Regions from separate parts of the Homo sapiens genome. Here region 2 is linked to region 1. Evidence: promoter capture Hi-C in human tissues and cell types (Jung and others, 2019). All regions are on one chromosome and are shown on one strand. The core of a region is centred on a gene start or on the middle of the fragment in contact, and the rest is flanking DNA. Distances in the headings are between cores, read along the strand shown.

Region 1 (4,173 bases), core at 701-3,200:
ATTCACTGCTGTATCCCTAGCAACATCTAGAGCAGTACCTGGCAGATATTAGGCACTTATTAAGTGATCAATTAATATCTGCATTCTTACACAGCCTCTGACTTCAGGATTTGACTCAGGCATCTGAGCCACATTCCTTTTCTTCTTCACTAGATTGATAGCACGATCACAAAATGATGACCCACAAAAATCCATAAACACCTGGTTCCTAGCAAACTGGAGTTTAATCAACAGGAATTTTATTGTTGATTTTTAATCTTCCCTATCAAAAAAGAGTAGGCAGTACTATGCAATGTCCCCCAAAACCCAATAAAAGAAGAAACTCTGTGACAATGTAACAAGAAGGTAGTCGGATTCCATTTGCCTGGCTCCGACTGGTGCAGGGCAAAGTCTGAGGCTTGGCTTAATGTGCACACTAGGGATGGTCATTTGATGATGCTTGTCAAACCCAACCTCCTATCTGTAGAAAACTGGAGCAGAGACAGAGCAATAAGGCAGCCTGAAAACTGTGGGCAGGCTCTCCACAGGACTCCTTAGTTGTTCCTTCTGGGCAGGAGGGGACACTGAACAGGCCCACTGCTAGCAGCACTCACTCTCTTAGCAGGGCACACACCTTGGAGAGAAAAGAATGGTGTGCCGAGAGCCACGGTATCCTGGAAATAACCCTGTCCATCGATGCAACAAGGCCACAAGCAAACATTCCCCAGAACAATGCAAACAAACCGAGCGACTGCCACTAGGTGTTCTGAAGAGCGATGGGTACATTATGTCTCAAAACTCTTTAGTTTGAATACTGTTTACAGTGAAAATACACTAACGACCTGTTCATCTTTTTCCATGATCATGTCGACTCCATCTCCTGGGGGGTCATCAGAGGGGCCCTTGATATCATGGCTTTCCTGCTCCCTAACCTTACCACAACAGTTCATAAAAGTCTCATCTCTAATGGCTCTACTGTCCTCTAAAATCATGACAAGAGGATGACGGGGTGACACTTTGGATTCTTTTAAATTTTTCTATCGAGGTCAAAGCTCCAGAGCAGGGCTTAAAACATTTTGGAGAATCCCCTGGATTCTCTGGAGCTTTGAACATAAAGCGACTCCACCTGAAGACGCCTTTGGCTTCTTTATTTATAATATAGGGGAGAAGACCTTATTTAATGCTAAGCCAGGGTCACTTGACACCCCTAGAGGCAGGACGGTCTGGGTGCAGGGTAGCCAGGATGGGTGGTAGGGCGGATTCAAACGAGCCAGAGGCTTCGGAGTGATCTCCCCGAGCCCAGCAACGGGCTCTTGAAGAATGCGAGCAAAAACCCGTCCCGCCCTCACACTACGTTATCTCCCTTCCGCCCCTCCCTGAGTAGACCGTAAGAGCCCTAGACCAGGAGCCCCTGTTCTGCCACTCACTGGCTACAAGTCCTTGGGCAGGTCGACTTTGGGTCTCCAGGGCTCAAGGGTCTCATCTGTACAACGGGGATCATGATCTCCGTTCCACAGGCAGTTGTGAGGCTCAAAGGGGTAACAGTGCGAACGCGCTTTGTCAGAGGCTGAACCCTGGCCCACCGGCGCGTTAGGACCATGACGAATTACTTCCCCGGTCTCGGCTTCTCCCCTCTGGCCTTCCAGCCGTGGCGGGGTTGGGGGGATCGTGCTGTTCGCCGGTCACCCCAGGGTCAGGGTCCTGGCTGCGTCCCCGCCACCCAGCCCCGGGTCCCCTCACCTCCATCGGTTGATCCCGACTGAGGAGGAGGCCGCGAACCACGGGTCGAGAATGTAAACGCAGCGCACGCAGCGCGCCCCGCGCACGGCCGCCAGCAACGCCGGGTTGTCGTGGAGTCGCAGCCCTTTGCGGAACCAGTGCACCGAAGAGGCGCTGTCCGTGCCGGGCGCTGGCGCCGGGGCCACAGCTGCCGCCGTCGCCACAGTCGCCGCCATGACTGTCCAGACTGCTCCAGCCACCCCCGCTCCGCCCCGGTAGGCGACGTGGACCCCGCCCATAGCCCGCCCAGTGACCTATGACGCCGCAACTCCACCCTTAGTCCCCGCCCACAGGGCCCCAGAGCCCCTCTGCCATTGGCTGAGTGCCTTCCACCTGGCGATTGGCCCAGAGGCGCCGGAACAGGCCCGCCCCCTCACGTTCCTACCATGTGTGGGTCCGCCCGGGTGGAGCTGGCATGCGGACAAGTGACGCAGGCTGGGGCTGTCCGCAGGCTGGGGCTGTCCGCGGAGTGCCGGGAGTAGGCCAAGTCTCAAGGGACAGCGGATCTCTTACCCACGTCCTGTTCAGGGCCTGCTTCTAGAAGAAGCTGCCTGGGCTGGTAGGGGTTGCTGTGACTACAGCCAGTGACTTGCAAGACTGACAGCTGACCTTCCTATTATCACCAACATCGTCACCATCACCATCTACATCATTCTACTACAGCTGCCATTTATTAAGTGCACTTTATATGGCAAGAGACATGATCATCTCCTTACGTAGACGGTCTCATTTACTATTCTCAACTCAGCCCAGTTACATTCATTTAGCGAACCCCAGTGAAAAAGCTGCTGTTGTTTTCGTTTCACAGATGAAGAAAACGGAGGGTGCCGCAGGTTGAGTGACTTATTCAATATCATAAAGCTGCTAAGAGGATTTCACCCAGATTATTCTGATTTCGAAATTTCTGCTTTTATCCACGAAGCTATACTTCTCTTTGTGCGAAGATCCTTGGTAATTCCAAGTGGCAGAGTCTAAGGACGGGGAAGGAGTGCCCTAATATGCAGCAGTAGAGGATTTGGGAGTAAGGACTGGGAATGTGGGGGACTTGAATTGAGATAGTAATTATGCCATCAGATGAATTTATTTTCTTTTAGTCTGTTTAGTAGATCCAGTGTGTGCAAAGCACTGTACTGGATTCCGGGTAGGGTTCAGAGATGTGGAGGACACTGTCCCCATTCTTCTGGGACGCCAGGTGGAACCCTCTTGGGCTAAGACGGCTTAGTCAAGCTGCAGCTTTGGGGTTATCAGGTGGAAAACAGTCTGTTTCAACTTGACCCTAGGTTGAGCCCATGCTTGGAACCCTTCCTGGACCTGGGACAGAGTGATGAAAGCATTTAGTAATTTAGTCTGCAATTTAGTGGCATTAATTGGCACCACTCTCTAAACCAGTGTCACTGCAATCCTAGGCATTCTCTGTCATTTCCAGGGCTTTTCACGAGCTGTTCCAGCAGTCTAGATCACACTCCCTCTTCCATCTTTGTTTCTAACTCCAGTTTGCTCTGTATCATTGTTCAGTATAGATGTCACCTTCTTGCTGTCTGATCCCAACCTGAATAGTGCCCCATCTTATTCTGTGCTTCTTTTTGGTCACTTGTCTTGGCACACAATACTGAAATTTCTTGCTTAAAAGTCTTTCTGCCCCATTAGAGTATAAACTCCTGGAGAGCAGGGGCTGTGGCTTATTTACATACAGTTGTATGTCTGAAGTCTAGCTCAGGGCTTGGCACCTAACGCTCAAGGATTATTTGAGTAAAAATTGAACTAGAGTCTCATATTGGCAGGCTCTTAAAGGTTTATCCTAGTCCGCTTACCTGACCCTTTCCTTATTTTTGAATTTCCTTTCCAAATTCTTGCTGAATAAATCGATGCAATCTTTCATTACTTTTATTTTAAGGTTTTGTGTTCCCCCTCTCCTATGCCCTCTTCTCTCCACAAGGTTGGTGCTTTGCTAGGAATGAAACAGAGTGTAAGGAGGTGGTTCTCCCTTAACCTCAGAGATGGGTCCTCTTCCCTTTTTCTCCTCTAAATTCCCATAATGCTATATCTGTATTCCGTGAACCCTGTGAGGCAGGGACTGTGCTTGTCTTACTTTTCAGTGTCTTCTCAGCTGGTACTCTGGTACCTAACATATAGTAGGTGCTCAAAAAACATTTGTTGAATGATCAAAAGTCACTTCCCTCCCCTCCCCTCGCTCTCTTATTAAGCTATCATGAGAGGCAGTGTGATGTAATGGTTAAACCTGAGGCTTTGCACATTGGAGTTGCTGAGTTCAAATTCTAGTTCTGCTTTTATTCTCTGTGACCTTGGATAAGCTAGTTAACCTCTCTGTTCCTCACTTTCTTAATCTTTGCAATAGGGTGATAATAGCACTTAGGATATAGTAAGCATTTGTACTGTGTCAGCTACTGTTATTCT
Region 2 (4,173 bases), core at 496-2,995, 1.2 Mb after region 1:
AAAGGAAAAAAAGTGAAAAGTGAAAAAGGAGACGGGGTCAATTCCGCCTTTTTTTTTTTTTTTTTTTTTTCTGAGACAGAGTCTTGCTCAGTCACCCAGGCTGGAGTGCAGCAGCGTGATCTTGGCTCACTGCAACCTCCACCTCCAGGGTTCAAACGATTCTCCTGCTTCAGCCTCCTGAGTAGCTGGGATTACAGGCACTCGCCATCACGCCCGGCTAATGTTTGTATTTTTAGTAGAGACGGGGTTTCACCATGTTGGCCAGGCTGGTCTTGACCTCCTGACCTCAAGTGATCCGCCCGCCTCGGCCTCCCAAAGTGCTGGGATTACAGGTGTGAGCCACCTTGGCTAGCTGGTCAATTCTGCCATTTTAAAGGAGAAAATGCTCTAGTTCTAGAGAGAAGAAAGCCTTTCCGGGCTCTGTGTGCTAAAGGAGGTCTCTGTGTGTGAATCCCCGCAATGCTGGGGGTTCCTGGGAGGATTCAATGGGATAGCCACGGTCACAGCAGGGGTCAGTTCCTGGACCGCTTCCTTCCTAGCTCCGAGGGGTGTCGCCTGACCAGTAGCCAGTGGCCAGCAGGGGGCGTGCCAGGCACACTCAGAAATGCTCAGCTCCAGGCAGTTTCTAATCCAGGTTTACAGGTGCTTGTTCCAGCAGCCGGGCTGCCTCCTCTCTCCAAGAAAAGGCTGGCACCTCTGAGGGGTGCACAGGTCTGCAAGGCTGGGGGCACCCACAGGCCATCCTACACCAGAGCAAAATGAGGCAGGTCTCCTTGGCCCGTCTACGACAGAGCCTCCTTCCAAGCAACCCCTTGGCCTGACTCCGGCTGTACCTGGTCCCCAGCAGCACACGCCACCTCCGCCTGTGTCTCCATGGATGTGCATGGTGACTAAAACATCACCACCAACATACCACATAATAAATGCTGCCTAAGTGCTTCAGGCTTTAACAATGTATCTCACACGGCATGGGTCAGTAGCCCCATTGTATAGATGAGGAAGCAGGCTCAGCAAAGGTCTAGCGGCTGTGGCAGTGTTAGCACTCCAGGCCTTGGGAGTCTGACTTACCACCGGCCTAAGCAGCATCTGACAGCATCAGAATCATCTAGAACCAGCCAATGACTTTCCAGGGTAGGATGCTTACCACCTCCCAAGGGACCCACTTCTCCTCCCAGGTCCCTTGTCAGGTGGCACTGGTTTATGTCACTGGTGACATCCAGACTTTGCTAAAATTAGCAAAGTCTCAGCAATTGTGGGTCAAACTACATATGCGACCAAAACATTTCCTTGTGTGCACCAAGCCTTCCAGCTGCCACAACCCCCACACCTGATCTCCTCGGTCAGGGCCAGAAAACATCGCTCTCCCCTTCCTCCACTGAGAAAATGGCCATGTCCATGTCACCTAGATGGAGTGTCCTCTCTGCAAACTCTCCTGGTGCCGCTGAGTCAGGCTTTCTCCTGCTGCCCATGCCCTTTGTACTCCACATCCCTCCCCTGAGGTGTCAACAGGCCCTAAGTGACCACTGTGTCCTGCGCCCTCACAGGATTGCAGATCAGAGATGTCAGGTCCCAGCCAAGGGCACATGCAGCATCCGGGACCACAAGAAAGGAGAGCCAGGTGGTCATTGGATCACTATTGAGACAGGCTGGGAACCTGGTCAGTCTATCTGTTGGTCAGTCGGTCAGTCCGTCCGTCCATCTGTCCACCCATCCATCCATCCATCTCTCTCACTTTAATGGAGGTATAATACACATGAACTAATGGGCACACATTCAGCTTGGTGCATTTTTACGTATGTGCACATACTGGCGAAACCAGTATCAAGATTTGGCTAAAATACTCCTTTTGCCCTAGAAGGCTCCCCAACACCTCCCCAGCTAGTGCCCTTCCCCAGAGGCAGCCTTCACTGGGACTTCTCAGCATATCAGCCTTGGCTCCCAGTTTCCTAAAACCCAGAGTGGAGCTCCCAACGCTCCCCAGTGTAGCTTGAGATAAGAGGGCTGACAACTGCCCCCATGCTCTCTGGCCACAAATGGGAGCACAGAGCTGTGAAGCTGCCTCTGAGTCTCTGGGCCCCCTGAGCAGGGAGTTGTGGTGCTAACTGGGGTGCCCTGCCCCCATAGAAGCACACTCTCCTACAAACTGTCAGGCACACACGAGCACTGCAGATGCCAGTCCCAGACATGTGGGTGCACAGAGCCCCAAATGCAGGGACACCCAGGCCAGAGAGCCTCCTGCAGCCCCGCCCCACCTCACCTGAGCCTGCACGTAGTCCCAGGCATCCTGCAGGCTGTCCTCGCGACTGCTGTTGTAGTCTCGAATGAGCTCAGTCACGATGCCGCCCATCTCCTGCTTCAGCTGCAGGGGGGAGGACAAAGGTCAGGGTCAGATTTCCTGAAACCCGTGCCCACCTGTGGTCACCCCTACTTAAACTGCCTCCCCCCGTTCCCCTCAGCAACCCTGGGACACGCTCATGGCTCCAGCCACTTTCCTGGCGCTCCCAGGGTGCCCGATGCAGGCAGTGCCAACCACTCCTGCCCCACTATCTCTTCTGCGCTTGGCAGCAGCCTGGCCCTGTAAACATCAATATTCTCATGTCACTGCTGAAAACCCCGTAGGGGCCTCCCACCTCCAGGGCAGTTCCCACCGTCATTGTCCCCATAACAGCCTAGGAGGTCCTACACCACTTGTCTGCCTCCCCAGGCCTTCTGTCCTCTGTTCTTCCTCCCTCTGCTTCAACTGACTAGATTTCTGTGCTGTCTTTGTGCCAGGCACACTCCTGCCTTGGGGCCTTTGCACCTGCTGTTCCCACCGCCTGGAATGCTCTTCCCCTAGACATTAACATGGCTCACCCTCTGCTTCCTTCAGGGCTCTGCTCCAATGTCACCTCCTCAGAAAGGCCTTACCAGACCACTCTACAAAATATCAGCCCTTCCCCATCCCCTCTCCCCCAACCAATCAACCACCCCTCCCCGGCCTCCCTTATCCCACAAGGGAAAGCATGCTGTATTTCTCTTTAGAGCACTGACGTTACATGCTTGTTGGTTTTCAGGGCTTATCATCTCTCTCCACTAGCACATCAGCTCCGTGGGGGCAGGGACCACATCTGGCACGCTCACTACAGGGTCCCCCGTGGCTAGCGCCAAGCCTGGCACAGAATAGTTGTGTGGGGTACGTGAATGCTGAATGCACACCTAACCACCATGGTCTGCCAGGCACCAGAGCCAGACCCATGCAACTTCTTGGTGAATCCTTACACCTCCCACAGGGCAGCTTCAGGGAGAAGGAGGGACAGGGAGGAAAGCCCAGCTCAGTTTCCTTCTTCCAAGGACCAGAGTGCAGCCTCTCCAAACAGGGCCCCCAAGACAGCAGGGTAGATGCCTGGAGGGGGCCCCAAGACTGAGGGACCTGGAACTTCGGTATCAACTATATGGTCAAAAGATCCTCCCTCTATGTAGTCATGGTGGTGGGTGCCCGTAATCCCAGCTACTCAGGAGGCTGAGGCAGGAGAATTGCTTGAACCCAGGAGATGGAGGTTACAGTGAGTCGAGATCGCACCACTGCACTCCAGCCTGGGCGACAGAGTAAGAGTCCATCTCAAAAAACAAAAAACAAAAACAACAACAAAAACAACAACAACAAAAAACAAAACAGAAAAGATCCTCCCTCACCCCTTCCCAAGCCCCAAGCCAGCAGTGCCAGCCAGCCGGAGTGTGAGGTCAGTTGCCTTTCTGGGACCTGGCTACTTGCCCCAGAGCTCCAAAAACATCTCACTTTTTTTTTTTTGTTTTGCTTTGTTTTGTTTTTTTGAGACAGGGTCTCCCTGTCACCCAGGCTAGAGGGCAGTGGCAGGATCTCAGTTCACTGCAACTTCTGCCTCCTGGGGTTAAGCAATCCTCTCACTTCAGCCTCCCAGGTAGCTGGGGCTACAGGCATGAGTCACCATGCCCGGCTAATTTTTGTATTTTTAGCAGGGACAGGGTCTCGCCATGTTGCCCGGGCTGGTCTCGAACTCCTGACCTCAAGTGATCCACCCAGCCCAGCCTCCCAATGTGCTGGGATTACAGGCCTGAGACACCTCGCCTGGCCCAAATCTACATCTTGCCTATGCTGGTCCTCACCCTGCTCAGGAATTAAGGGTTCCTTCTTGTGGTGGAGAGCAGCACCTGCTC

Evidence for each region. The method cuts DNA at HindIII sites, captures the fragments that hold promoters and counts their contacts. A contact is called where the count stands out against the background at its distance.
Region 2: a fragment that was not itself captured here is called in contact with the fragment with the promoter of CRY2 in region 1 in 1 of the 25 tissues and cell types used here (pancreas).

What each region holds. Positions count from the first base shown.
Region 1 is chr11:45,845,252-45,849,424 of GRCh38, reverse strand. CRY2 (cryptochrome circadian regulator 2) reads right to left here and starts at 1,950. Exons shown (of 12, transcript NM_021117.5): 1 at 1,720-1,950. The coding sequence starts at 1,934. RefSeq lists a silencer at 1,180-1,289 and enhancers at 1,238-1,759, 1,690-1,929, 2,290-2,339, 2,390-2,499. The HindIII fragment of the contact is 4,522 bases long and covers 1-2,679 here.
Region 2 is chr11:44,613,458-44,617,630 of GRCh38, reverse strand. CD82 (CD82 molecule) reads right to left here. Exons shown (of 10, transcript NM_002231.4): 7 at 2,258-2,359. Among named protein-coding and RNA genes, the nearest start is that of CD82-AS1, 10 kb to the right of the region's middle. RefSeq lists an enhancer at 865-1,214. The HindIII fragment of the contact is 7,048 bases long and covers 1-4,173 here.